Linked DNA regions of Homo sapiens: all the other regions are linked to region 1. Evidence: promoter capture Hi-C in 16 types of primary human blood cells and fetal thymus (Javierre and others, 2016). All regions are on one chromosome and are shown on one strand. Each heading gives the region's core, a stretch centred on a gene start or on the middle of the fragment in contact. The rest is flanking DNA. Distances are from core to core; before and after follow the strand shown.

Region 1 (4,237 bases), core at 548-3,047:
TTTTATTTTTTAAGAGAAAGGGTCTTGCTCTGTTGCCCAGGCTGGAGTGAAGTGGTACAGTCATAGTTCATTGCAGCCTCAACCTCCTGGGCTCAAGCAACTAGCTTGAACTACATGTGTGTGCCACCACACCCAGCTAATTTTTAGTTTTTGTTTTTTTGTAGAGATAGGGGGAGGAAGGGTCTCGTTATTTTGCCCAGGCTGGTCTCAAACTCCTGGCCTCAAGTGATCCTTAAGGAGGTATTTTAAAAACTGTTTTCGAAATAATGCCTCCTGAGGTAGCCTGTTTTATTGTTAATACCCATTAGATGGCTTCCCTGTAGGCACAAGCTTAGAAACTTTCCCAGGAAGACCCACAGTTCCCACTGTCTTCAGTTCAGGTTCCTCAAATTGACAAGATCTTCCATTACCTCTCCAAACTTACTATCCATGCTTTTCTTTCATTGTTTCCCCCCACCCCTTTTTTTAACCTTCCTCATTTGCTACCTGGCCTGAGAATTTACCTCCCACTCTGCCCTCCACTTGTCCTTATTCCTATTACTCTTCTTGCTGAATAGTCCATTTGGGACTTCCTTAGTCCAGCCTTAGTCATATCTTCCTCTGAAGCCTTCCCTGACTACCACCAAGGGTCACTGACACTCCTTTGAATGCCAGAAGGATTAGTTGTAAACCTTTCACGTTGACAGTAACTAGCTTGCTTTCATGAGCTTAACTGTTTCATGAGTTTACAACTTGTCTCAATTTGATTTTAAACTACAGAGGCTTTATGTGCTAAGAATGCCACAGGTTTACATTCCATTTGTGTTGAAGCTATAGTAGCCTTTATTTGATATTTGTTTTAATTTCATGACATGAAATTAAATTTTCAGGGACATGCAACGGGTTCGGCCCATTCCCTTCACTTAACATTACTGAGCTGGGCAGTAAGCTCAGAGTTGCAGATATAAAGATGAATAGACAGATACCTACCCAGGAGCTTACTCTAGAAGAGGACAGATGGATAAGCTACATTTTATAGCAGAATTTGGCAAAGTGTACTGAAGCTATAAACAGCTATGATGGTAAATAAGGTAAGAATTATGCTTAGTGAGGTCAGGGAAGGCTTCTAGAGCTAACATCTGAACTGGGACTTCTATTGGCAAGGCAGAAAATCAGGAAAACGCACTTATTCCTGGCAGAGGAAGCCTCTTGATCAAAAATCTTAAGAGATGAAAAAGGACCGGTTGTTAGGAAACAGATGATGGTGCCCAGAGCGCAAGATGAGGGGGAGTGTTGGGAGATGGAGCTAAAAGATACACTGGTGCCAAAGACTGAAGAGCCTCCTGTAGATAGCGCAGGGCGCAGCGCTGAAGGGAAAGAAAAAGTTGGGATTGTTCAATAAAGTTGGTGACTGATTCAGTCGGATTAATTCCGCCCTGGTGGTCTTGTGGGAATGAAGATAACTAGCAGGATAGTCTAAGAAGCCCTGTGGAAGCAGAGTCATGAGCTGTGAATGGGGACGTGGCGGCCACACGGCCGCGCCCACGCCACCCGCAGTACGGGGCTGGGGCTGGGGCTGGGGCTGGAGCCCGCCGTCCCAACAATCCCGGGGACGAGAGTTGGGCGGGAATCCGCTCCACGCAACTCGGCGCGGTCCCGGGGACGTGGCGCTTTCCAGCCAATCCCGGCTATGCGATTGTTAGACCAATGGCTACTCGGGGACGCTATGCGACAGCGGCGGGTTTGCTGATGATTGGTCGGGAGGCCGCCGGCGAGGCGGATGAGGGCGGGGTGCGGACCCGCTTCCGGTTGGGCGGTGCTTGCGCGCGTGAGCTGAGCCGGTGGGTGAGCGGCGGCCACGGCATCCTGTGCTGTGGGGGCTACGAGGAAAGGTAAGTACGGTGATGCCCAGCCCCTTCACCACTGCCTCATCTTTATTCGCTTTCTTTCTGTCCCCGGTCTTGTTCTTGGCGCGGCAGGGGACTGCCTCACTCGGTGCCGCTGTCTCTGCTGGCGCCCGGGTCCCAGGCCTGATGCTGCTGGAGATCCCGGGACCCTCTGTGTGCAGCCTGGGATGGAGGCCGCCGCCCGTCTTACCGCGCGCTCTGGGAAGGGGGCTGGTCCGGTGGAACTCTGTCCCGTTGGGTACTGTTCTGTGCCTGGTTTGCTGCGTCCTGGTCCTCCATCTCTAGGTCACGCCACTCACCGAGTCTCTGGCACCAGAGGGTCATTTTTTGCCTCCGGAAGGTCGGAGGGCATTTGGATAGTGTTATTGTAAGAGTTCCTTGCCGCCTCCACTCACCATCCTGCTTGTATCTGCCAGCTCCGCCCCAAGGCCACATCCCGACAGTAGGGTGCATCTGCCAAGGTCGTGTTCACTCACCTAAAGGGTGCAGAAACAAGGGGGGAGAGAACGAGTGACGACACTAGGTGATATCTATGATTTTAAAGAAAAGCTGAATGTTTAGAGCTTCCATATTTGGCTACGTACTTCAGTTAGCGACGGAAAATAGTTTTTAAAGCTTTATTGGGGAATTAATTTTTGTTACGTTTTTTGTTGCTTCTAGCCCCATATCCTACTGATTTTTAGCATGCTGCGGTCAGAAATAAACTTAATTCCCTATAGCTGCCGCGATTAAGCGTAGAGTGGCTTGCAGTTTCAAAAGCTGCTTTTGCATCAAGGCCCAAGCTCCGTGGGTCTCCTGCTAAAACTTTTGAGCCTGTGATCTGAATTCCTAAGTGTATAAAATTCTAGAATAGTGTCTTCGAGAATTGAGTTGCGTTCATTTTCTGGTGTGGACCATGAAGTCAACGTTAATGAATTGGGAATAAGGTGGCTTCTAGTTGTTTTTTGTTCTAGTAGCTTATTCAGCTTGGAGGCAGAGAACCTTGGAATCTCTGTTAAATTAGTCTGCCATAGAATGGAACTTGACACAAGACAAATGCAAGTTTGACCTCACTCAGTAGATTTAATTAACCAAATACCAAACGACAGTAATCACTGAAGAATTTATATAGTATAATCCAAATGAGGGACCAGATATAACCTCTAAGTTGTATTTGTCAAGAAAATGAGTTTGCCAAGACCTAATCTGAGGTTTTACTGTGATTGGGGGGTGGGGGGGTTCCAATAGGATTCTTTTGAGAATCACAAGTAGGAAAGCCATGAGCTCACAAAAATGTATTGAGTATGCCTGAGTGAATAGTACTCAATATAGCTTTGAAACCAACTCATTGTCACTCTCAATGTAATCATTGTTTGTTTTCATTCATCCAGTGATGTGTCAAGAAGTACTTATTGATAGCACTTAATATCCATTAGAGCAGTATTGGGATCTATATATTGGTGTTATTTTTTAAAATTTATTTATTTTAGAGTTGAGGGTCTCAGTATGTTGACCAGGTGGAGCCTTGAACTCCCATGCTCAAGCAGTCCTCCTGCCTCAGCCTCCCAAGTAGCTGAGACTAGAGGTATATAACACCACACCCTAGTACATTGGTGTTAACACAGATTTTCTGTAACGTAGGTATACCAGGGATATTGAAAGGACAGAGGTGTAGCCAAGGATAGCCACTGGAAATGCTAGCTAGGCCACAAGGCCCTAGATTCTCACTCTCTGAACTCTTAAGTATGGATGTTGCTGATGCAGTAATTTATGTATTAGAGTTAAGACAGCTGAAATAACACTTTTGCCTGTTCCTGGCTGATTGCCAGATCCAGTAAACGGAATTGGAAGTTGGAGAACACAGGCAGGCAGGAACCACATTGCTGCCAAGTACCGCCCAATTAATTCAGTAAGATGTATTAATCCAGTAAAATGTATTGGTATCAAAAAAGTGCAAGACAATGTATTAGGGACAATATAGGGGTAATAATTTGTATTAGAATGATATGTAGACATTCTTCCAGAAATGTCGATTCTAAAGGGGAGCTAAGGAGACAACTTAAGGTAACCTATGGTCATTGTTTTTGAGTGGTTCAGACGAGTTTTATAGAAGTTTAGATTGGATCATACCCTTTTTGTCCAAAAAGAGAAAAAGATAACAGATCACTTCCAGCTAGAGTGATCATAGTAGGTAGGTCTTCTAGGATCTTAAATTTATTTATAGACATCTGGCACTGAAGGAAGTTTGAGCTAAAATAACTACCAAATTCTCAACAGTGTCACGCATGTTACACATGCACAGCAAAATTACAACTAGAAACCAAGGCTCCTATCCCTACATTTCAAATAGCATTTCTCTCACAATTGATTAT
Region 2 (4,237 bases), core at 1,102-3,601, 400 kb after region 1:
TCACATGGTACAAAATAGCCACCACATCTATGGATGGGGATGGAGCAGTTATGGGTACATAGGGATATGGTAGACCATCCAAAACTTCCATTACAGTTATACACATGTCTAACTCCCCAGTTAGATCGTGAGCTTCTCAAGGGTACTGACAGTGGCTCCTTCATCGTTGTGTGCTTTTGCCAAGAAATACATATTTATTAAATGAATTTATAACCAATTCTGTGGACCTTAACTTACACATTAGGCTCACACAAGCATCTGAAATAATGCATACAGATATTCTGATAGACATTTTAACATATAATAAACACTTTGTGGGCCGGGTGTGGTGGCTCACACCTGTAATCCCAGCACTTTGGGAGGCCGAGGCAAGTGGATTGCCTGAGGTCAGGAGTTCGAGACCAGCCTGGCTAATGTGGTGAAACTCCGTCTCTACTAAAAATACAAAAATTAGTCAGGCGTGATGTCGCACGCCTGTAGTCCCAGCTACTAGGGAGGCTGAGGCAGGAGAATCACTTGAACCCGGGAGGCAGAGGTTGCAGTGAGCCCAGATCGTTCCACTGCACTCCAGCCTGGGCAACAGAGAGAGACTCCATCTCAAAAAAATAAATAAAATAAAATAAACAATTTGGGGCAGACATTCTAGTTTCCTACTCATATCATTTCTGCCCTTCTTTCTTAATAGAACCCCACTTTTTTTTCCTTCAGGGGAGTAGTACCTTCAGTTAGCAATATTTACTCAGAGGTGATGATGTGGCCCAGTTCTAGCCAATGAGATATTAGCACAAGTTACTGGTAAAGCATCTGTGAATATTTTGTAAAAGGGACAAATGTGTCTGGCGTGTAACTTTTGCTTCTCTCTTTCCTTGCCTGGAATGTGAGTGTGATGTTTGGATGTGCAGCAGCTACCTTGTGACCATGAGAATGAAGTTTGCTCCCTAAGATGGGGTAGCAGAAAAATAGAAGGAGCCTGGCTCCTGGCTCCTTGAGGACTTTAGTAAGTCTTTGAGTGCAAAGGATCAGCCCTGAACAGTCTGTCCCCAGACTTCTTGTTGCCTGAGACAAAAAGCAAATAAAAACAAAACAAAACTTGTTTAAGCCATGGTTGGTTGTTTTTCTGTTACTTGCAGCTGAACATAGTCCTAACAAGCTTTTTTTAAAAAAGAAAAAAAAAAAAAAAGATTGGCCAGGTGCAGTGGCTCACACCTGTAATCCCAGCACTTTGGGAGCCTTAGAGGGTGCCGATTGCTTGAGCCCAGGAGTTCAAGACCAGCCTGGGCAACATGGCAAAACTCCATCTCTACCCCCCCACCCCCCCAAAAAAATATATATATATAATATATATTTTTATATTATATATGTGTTATATATATGGTATATTTATATATGTGTGTGTATATATATGTGTGTGTATATATACATATATATATATTCAGCTGGGCATGGTGGTATGTGCCTGTAGTCCCAGCTACTTAGGAGGCTGAGGCAGGAGGATTGCTTGAGCCTGGAAGGAAGAGGTTGTAGTGAGTCAAGATTGTGCCACTGCACTCCAGGCAGGGCGACAGAGTGAGACCTGTCTCAAAAAAGCAAAATAAAGCAAAACAAAAAAAAATTTAAACTAGAACTTATTTTTTAATTGTGCAAGCCCTATGCTTACCTAAGGAAAGATACTAGATCCTTTAGAGATGTTTTTCAAAAGTATTGTCCATAGATGATCCACATCAGAATTACACAGGCTGCTTGTTAGAGAAGGTAAATTTTCAGTGTGCTTGTTTGCTCAACCTAACCTCTCAACCGAGAATCAGAATCACTGGGGCTAGGGCCTGGAAATCTGCTCTTTCAACAAACTCACCAAACAATCCCTGAGCTCAGAAAATCTTAAGAACCACCAATAAATAATTCAAACAAGTTTGAATCATTTACTGGACAGCAAGGTAAATGTAACTAGTTTTTTTTTTTCCTTTTTAGTTTAACACCAATCCCCACACCTACCAACTTAACTTGATTATCATCAAGAAGGGTCCAAACTCTTTTTGAAGAGGAAACAAACTGTCAAGCTTCAATAAGAGCACACAATTTCCTGTGAGGTTGAAGCAAATGTTCCGCTTTCTTTATTAAGTTTATTTTAACTAAACTTGCTAAGCTTCCTCTAAATGTGTCATGCTATCCCTACCCCCTTCCTTTTTTGAGCACTGCCAATCACAGTCCCATTTCACATATGCAATTGTGCTCAGTGTCGTATTCTAATTGTCTAATACATTTGAAGTAAACACAATCCAATATACTTCTGATTTAATATTCCCTTAGTTTAGGCTCTCCTGAGTTATTAATTCTTTTTAGACTCAGAATACTCTTATCTAATTTTGTCTTTCTTATTGAACTAAAAGTGATTCTTATATGAAAAAAAAATAAGTAGAAACAATTTTTAAAACCCCAAATCTTGAATTTGAATATGATCAGAGGTCATTTATTAAGTAACAACAGAGGCAAATGACCAATATTAGACCCCCTAAACTATCGTGACCCTATCTTTTGGAGTCTTATTTCTCAAAACACCACAAAGCTTTTTCTCCTCTGTAGTCATTATGCCACCCTGAACTCATTCCCAACCGCTCATCTTTGCTTAGGCTGTGTCCCCATCTGGGGAAACCAAGCCTCACCTCCTCTTCAATTACTGCAACCCATTCTGCTAGTTCTCTTCTCTAAATTCTTATTCTAGTCACCATCATTACCACCTAATTTTTTAAATCTTCCCAAAGGAGATTTTGACACGTCAGTCTCCAACTAAAAATCCTTCAACAGCACCATGTTTTCTTTTTTTTTTTTTTCTTTTCTTTTAAAATAGAGTCTTGCTCTGTTGCCCAGGCTGGAGTGCAGTGGCGCGATCTCAGCTCACTGCAACCTCCACCTCCCGGGTACAAGCGATTCTCCTGCCTCAGCCTCCCAAGTAGCTGGGACTACAGGCACACCATCACACCTGGCTAGATTTGGATTTTTAGTAGAGACGGGGTTTCGCCATGTTGGTCTGGCTGGTCTTGAACTCCTGACCTCAGGTGATCCACCTACCTCAGCCTCCCAAAGTGCTAGGATTACAGGCGTGAGCCACCGCACCTAGCCGAGCACCATGTTTTCAACACTGAATACATCCTGTGTCCCATGCTCTGCTAGGTGCCAGGGGTACACATACTAATGCAACACGGGCAGAGTCCTACAGGCATTATGGACTGATGGGTTGTTATCACCGGGGCTCACTAGAAATCTCAAGTTGTCTACAGAGTGAACTGGAACTGGAAACAATCCTCAAGGCCCTCCATGATCTGTTTCTAATTTATTTTACTAATTGTATCCCACCTTATTCTCTCCCCTTTGATCCAAATACATGGGGCTACTTGCCACTAGCCAAACACACCTGCCCCCTTTCTGTCTCTCTGAATTTGCTCACTTTGATCTCTGCTCCTAAAGTGACCTCACTTCTCTACCCATGTCGATTCTGACATATCCTTGAGGACTCAGATTTCAAATGCCACCTTCTTCATGAAACATTATGTTGCTTATGAAGTTCTAATTACGTCAGGTTTCTCAAAAAGAACCCCACATAATACCAAGTGCAATGACTAGTTCTTGATTAAATCCTGGTTTGAACAAACCAGCTGTAAGATATTCTGGGGTCAATTGGGGAAATTTAAGTATGAACTGGGCACAAAATTATATTAGGAAATTATTGTTAAACTTATCAGGAATGATAACATTATCATAGTTATATAAAAAGTCATTATTTTTAGATATGAAAGTGAAATTAATGGGTTAAATGACATGATAGCTCAAAAATGGAAGAAGGAAACATGAGAAAATGGGAAAATTTGGTAATGGGAATACTGTAGATGTTTCTGGATTTCTACTTTTCTGTGCATTTGAAAACATTTCTAACCAAAAGAGAAAACAAGAACTACAAAAATTTTTCTTGCCAATAAAAATAAAACATATTCAAAAAAATAAAAATAAAACATATTCACTAAAGAAAATCTGGGGAAAAGGAAAAGTAACACAAATAGAGAGCAACAAATATCCTACCACGCAGAGATAATCATTATTTATATTATGATGCCTTTCCTTCTATACATTTATAAACCAATTATTTTCTTTATTTTTTATTGACACAAAAATTATATATATTTATGGTATACAACATTGTGTTTTAAAATATATAATTCTTTTTATTTTACAAAATTGTGATGGC
Region 3 (4,237 bases), core at 1,226-3,725, 290 kb before region 1:
GTCATCTGACGATGTCTTCAACTTGCCCTCCTTTAAAGAAAATAATGACTTTATTCAGATATAGTTCACATATCAAAATCCACCGTTTTAAAGGATACAATTCAATGGTTAAGTACATTCATAGACTTGTATAACTGTCAGCACTAATTTTAGAACATTTCATCACCAGCCCACACACCAAAAAAAAAACCACCCTGTACCCACTAGCAGTCATTCCCCAGTCCCCTCTCCTCCAGCCCTTGGCAACCACTTACCTACTTTCTGTCTCTGTGGATTTGCCTTTTTTTTTTTTTTGAGACAGTCTTGCTCTGTTGCCCAGGCTGGAGTGCAGTGGTGTGATCTCGGCTCACTGCAACCTCTGCCTCCTGGGTTCAAGCGATTTTCCTGTCTCAGCCTCCCAGGTAGGTGGGACTACAGGTCAGCACCACCATGCCTGGCTAATTTTGTCTTTTTGGTAGAGACAGGGTTTCACCATGTTGGCCAGGCTGGTCTCAAACTCCTGACCTCCAGTGATCTGCCCACCTTGGTCTCTGTGCTGGGATCCTCAAAGTGCTGGGCTTACAGGTGGGAGCCACTACGCCCAGCCCTGGATTTGCCTATTCTGACATTTCATATAAATGGAATCATACGATATGTACCCTTTTGTTTCTGGTTTCTTTCACTTAGCATAATGTGTTCAAGGTGCATCCATATTGTAGCATGTATCAATACTTCATTTTTTATGGCTGAATAATATTCCATTGTATCACATTTTGTTTATCCTTTAGCCAGTTGACGGACATTTGGGTTGTTTCTACTTTTTTGGCTATTATGAATAATGCTGCTATGAACATTTGTGTATAAGCGTTTGTGTGTGAACATACATCTTCGGTTCACTTGGGTATATATTTAGGAGCTAAACTGCTGGATCATACAGTAACTCTATGTTTAACTTTTTGAGGAACTATTCTAAAGCAGCTGCACTATTTTACATTCTAACAGCAATGTATGAGGGTTCTGTTTTTTCTACATTTTCATCAACATTTGTTCTTTTCTGGGTTTTTTTGCTTGTTTGTGTTATAGCCATCCTAGTGAGTGTGAGGTGGTGTCTCATTGTATTCTATTTTTTATGTTCATTTTAACATAAATGTAGCATACTGCTCACATACTATAAACCCTTTTCATTTAACAATATATTGTGGAGATCTTGTCGATATATACAGAACTTACTCTCTTTTTTCTGGCTTTATGGTAATTCACTGTCTGAATGCACCATCTTTTATTTAACCAGTTCTCTACTGATGGGCTGTTTTTTCCAGTCTTTCATTATCACAAACAGTGCTGCAACAGTGCTACCTTTAAACACTCCATTCTCTACATGTGGAAGGATAAATCCTAAAAGTGGAATTCTGGGCTAAAGGGCATGTGTATGCTTTTATTTTTATAGACATTGCCAAATGGTAGTCAGTGGTCTTTTTTAACACCTCAATGGTCTTGAGGTGTTTAAAAAACAAGTGGGGGTCAGGGTAACAATTACTGACAAATTGATTTCCATACTGAATGTACCAGTTTATACTTACCAGAAATGTAAGTACATGTTATTTAAATGAACACTTGATGATAAGATCAAATTTGTGAAAATACTTGTGTTCTTAGTATGGTACTCTTGTGTGGGTTGACTTCAGAATCACTTCTTTTTAGGGGCTTTGGGGGAAGGGCAGCTTATAAAAAGCTTTCCTTGGTTGCAGCTCCAAGGAGGAGGTAGCACCTGAAAACGGCTTCTCTTGGCGCCCTTATCTACATTTCCTTGATGAAACAATGGGTACTCACTGAAGATGCTGGGTAAAATATTCATTCATTTATTCCTTCAGTCAACAAATATTTATCAAAAGCCTACTATTTGGTGCTAGCTGCTGGAGATGGAATGGAAACAAAATCAGACCAAACACTCCTTTCACTGACATTTTCAGGCTTTTGAAAGGACACAGACATTAATACAACTAAGGGTAAAGTAACACACTGGGAAAGAAATGCCTATCATGCCACTGGAGCCCGGAACAGGGTCCGAGGGTCAGCAAGGGTGACCAGAGGAAATATGTTTGAATTGAGATATGAAAGATGAGTAAAAGACTAGGTGAAGAAAGTCTCTTCTTCCTCTGGAAGAAAAAGCATAGTTAACAAATAAAGAAGGCTGGGTATGGTGGCTCACACCTGTAATCCCAGCACTTTGTGAGGCTGAGGCACGTGGATCACTTGAGGTCAGGAGTTTGAGACCAGTCAGGGCAGCATAGAGAGACCCCATCTCTACAAAAAAAAAAGAAAGAAAAGCAAGAAAAGAAAGGAAAGAAAGGGAAGAAAGGGAGAAAGAAAGAAAAAGAAAGAAAGAAAGAAAGAGAAAGAAAGAAAGAAAAAGAAAGAAAGAAAGAAAGGAAAGAAAAGGAAAAGAAAAGAAAAGAATTAGCTGGTGTGGTGGTGGCAAAGAAAGAAAAAAGAAAGAATTAGCTGGGTGTGGTGGTGTGTAACTGTAGTCCCAGCTACTTAGGAGGCTGAGGTGGTAGGATAGCTTGAGCCCAGAAAGTCAAGGCTGCAGTGAGCAGTGATCGTGCCACTGTACTCCAGCCTGGAAAACAAAGTGAGACCCTTTCTCAACAACAACAACAAATAAAGAAGAGAGGCAATAATACCTACCTCATAGCATCGTTAGAAAAATTAAATAATACATGTAATGCATTTAGCAAAATGTTCAGCACGTATCAGTTACTTGAAGAATGCTTATTTTGTTTCCACTCTTTCTTTCTTCTTTTTTTTTTTTTTGAGATGGAGTTTCCCTCTTGTTGCCCAGGCTGGAGTGCAATGGTCTGATCGCAGCTCAGTGCAACCTCTGCCTGCCAGGTTCAGGTGATTCTCCTGCCTCGGCCTCCCAAGTAGTTGGGATTAAAGGCATGCGCCACCATGCCTGGCTAATTTTGTATTTTTAGTAGAGAATGTTGGTCCATGTTGGTCAGGCTGGTCTCGAACTCCTGACCTCAGGTGATCTGCCCGCCTCAGCCTCTCAAAGTGCTGGGATTACAGGTGTGAGCCACCATGCCCAGCTCTTTTTTTTTTTTTTTTTTAAATAACCATAGTGAATGTTAAAATCCCAGTTCCCCAAGCAAAACATTACCACCCTACTTATGTACTTACTTCTAAACTCTACCCCACACTGCCTTGGGTTGTTAGTTATCTTATCTTATTCAGGTCTTGTTTACTCAACCAGGTGACAAGCTTATTTAGAACAAGAATCTGGCTTTATACTTTTTAGCAAAATAATAGCTACTATTTGTTGAGCATATATGACATACTCTTTATGGGCATTATTTCCAACCCTCACAACAACCCTGTTTTACAGATTATTTTCCTCATTTTACAGATAAGGAAACTAAAGTTCAAAGGGGTCAGTTAGCCTGGCCAAGGTGTTGAAGGCAGGACTAAATCCTGATGCAGGTAGCTACATTTGTAGCTGACAGAATGGTAAAGCATAGAGCTGCCCTCACCCAAACCCTTCTTATTTCCAACTGGCATGACCTTTAGACAATGGCAGGGAATATGGGGAGAAAGAATTGTTGGAGAGGTGCCCATCCCTTCTTCCAGCTGTGTGAAGTATAAATTTAGAACTCAAACTAAGTAGAACTCAAATGGTCATTGTAGAATTCCTGCATTCATTCAGCAAGCCTAGGCTGCTAATGAGCAAAACCCCTCACTGGGAGTTTTGTAGTTGATGATACAGATAATGTTAAGATTCATAGAATGTTTTTTATGTGCCAGGCATTGTTCTAAGCGCTTTATATGGATTAATTCATTTAATATCAGGTTAAGACTGTTATGATCTCACAGAACAGCTGAGGAAACAGAACTACAAGAAGGTTAAAGGGTTCGCCCAAGGCCTTCACCTGGCAAAGTAGTGGCGTTTGGATCTGGCAGTGATTTCGCAGCTTGAGACCTATTTAATAACAGTGTGAGAGAAGGGTCACACAGTCAAGCAAAAAAACAGACGAAACTCTGGTATAGCGAAGGACCAAAAGTTCTGCGGGCTGAGCAGGAAAGTTGGCTCCAAATGTCTGCCTGCCTGCCAGCAGACCTCCAGCCCCAACCTTCTGCTTTCCCGGCTTCCCCACCCCCTCATTCCCGACAGACCACAGCCAGCCAGCCAGGAAAGGAGGGGAAAGGTCGCAGTGGGGATGGCTCCTCCCTTCCCGTCTTAGAGCCCTTCTTAAGCAGA

The links. Contacts are between HindIII fragments. The CHiCAGO score rates a contact against its expected background, and 5 or more counts as called.
Region 2: a contact is called between a fragment that was not itself captured here and the fragment with the promoter of CALU in region 1, in 1 of 17 cell types (M1 macrophages). The highest score is 5.2, in M1 macrophages.
Region 3: a fragment that was not itself captured here is called in contact with the fragment with the promoter of CALU in region 1 in 1 of 17 cell types (fetal thymus); the score reaches 5.2 in fetal thymus.

Annotation. Positions count from the first base shown.
Region 1 is chr7:128,737,562-128,741,798 of GRCh38, forward strand. CALU (calumenin) reads left to right here and starts at 1,798. Exons shown (of 7, transcript NM_001219.5): 1 at 1,798-1,871. RefSeq lists silencers at 1,405-1,544, 1,615-1,754 and an enhancer at 2,035-2,134. The HindIII fragment of the contact is 2,171 bases long and covers 329-2,499 here.
Region 2 is chr7:129,135,304-129,139,540 of GRCh38, forward strand. No RefSeq gene overlaps it. Among named protein-coding and RNA genes, the nearest start is that of TSPAN33, 7.3 kb to the right of the region's middle. RefSeq lists an enhancer at 1,925-1,974. The HindIII fragment of the contact is 420 bases long and covers 2,142-2,561 here.
Region 3 is chr7:128,450,416-128,454,652 of GRCh38, forward strand. No RefSeq gene overlaps it. Among named protein-coding and RNA genes, the nearest start is that of HILPDA, 3.3 kb to the right of the region's middle. RefSeq lists an enhancer at 3,491-4,197. The HindIII fragment of the contact is 1,532 bases long and covers 1,710-3,241 here.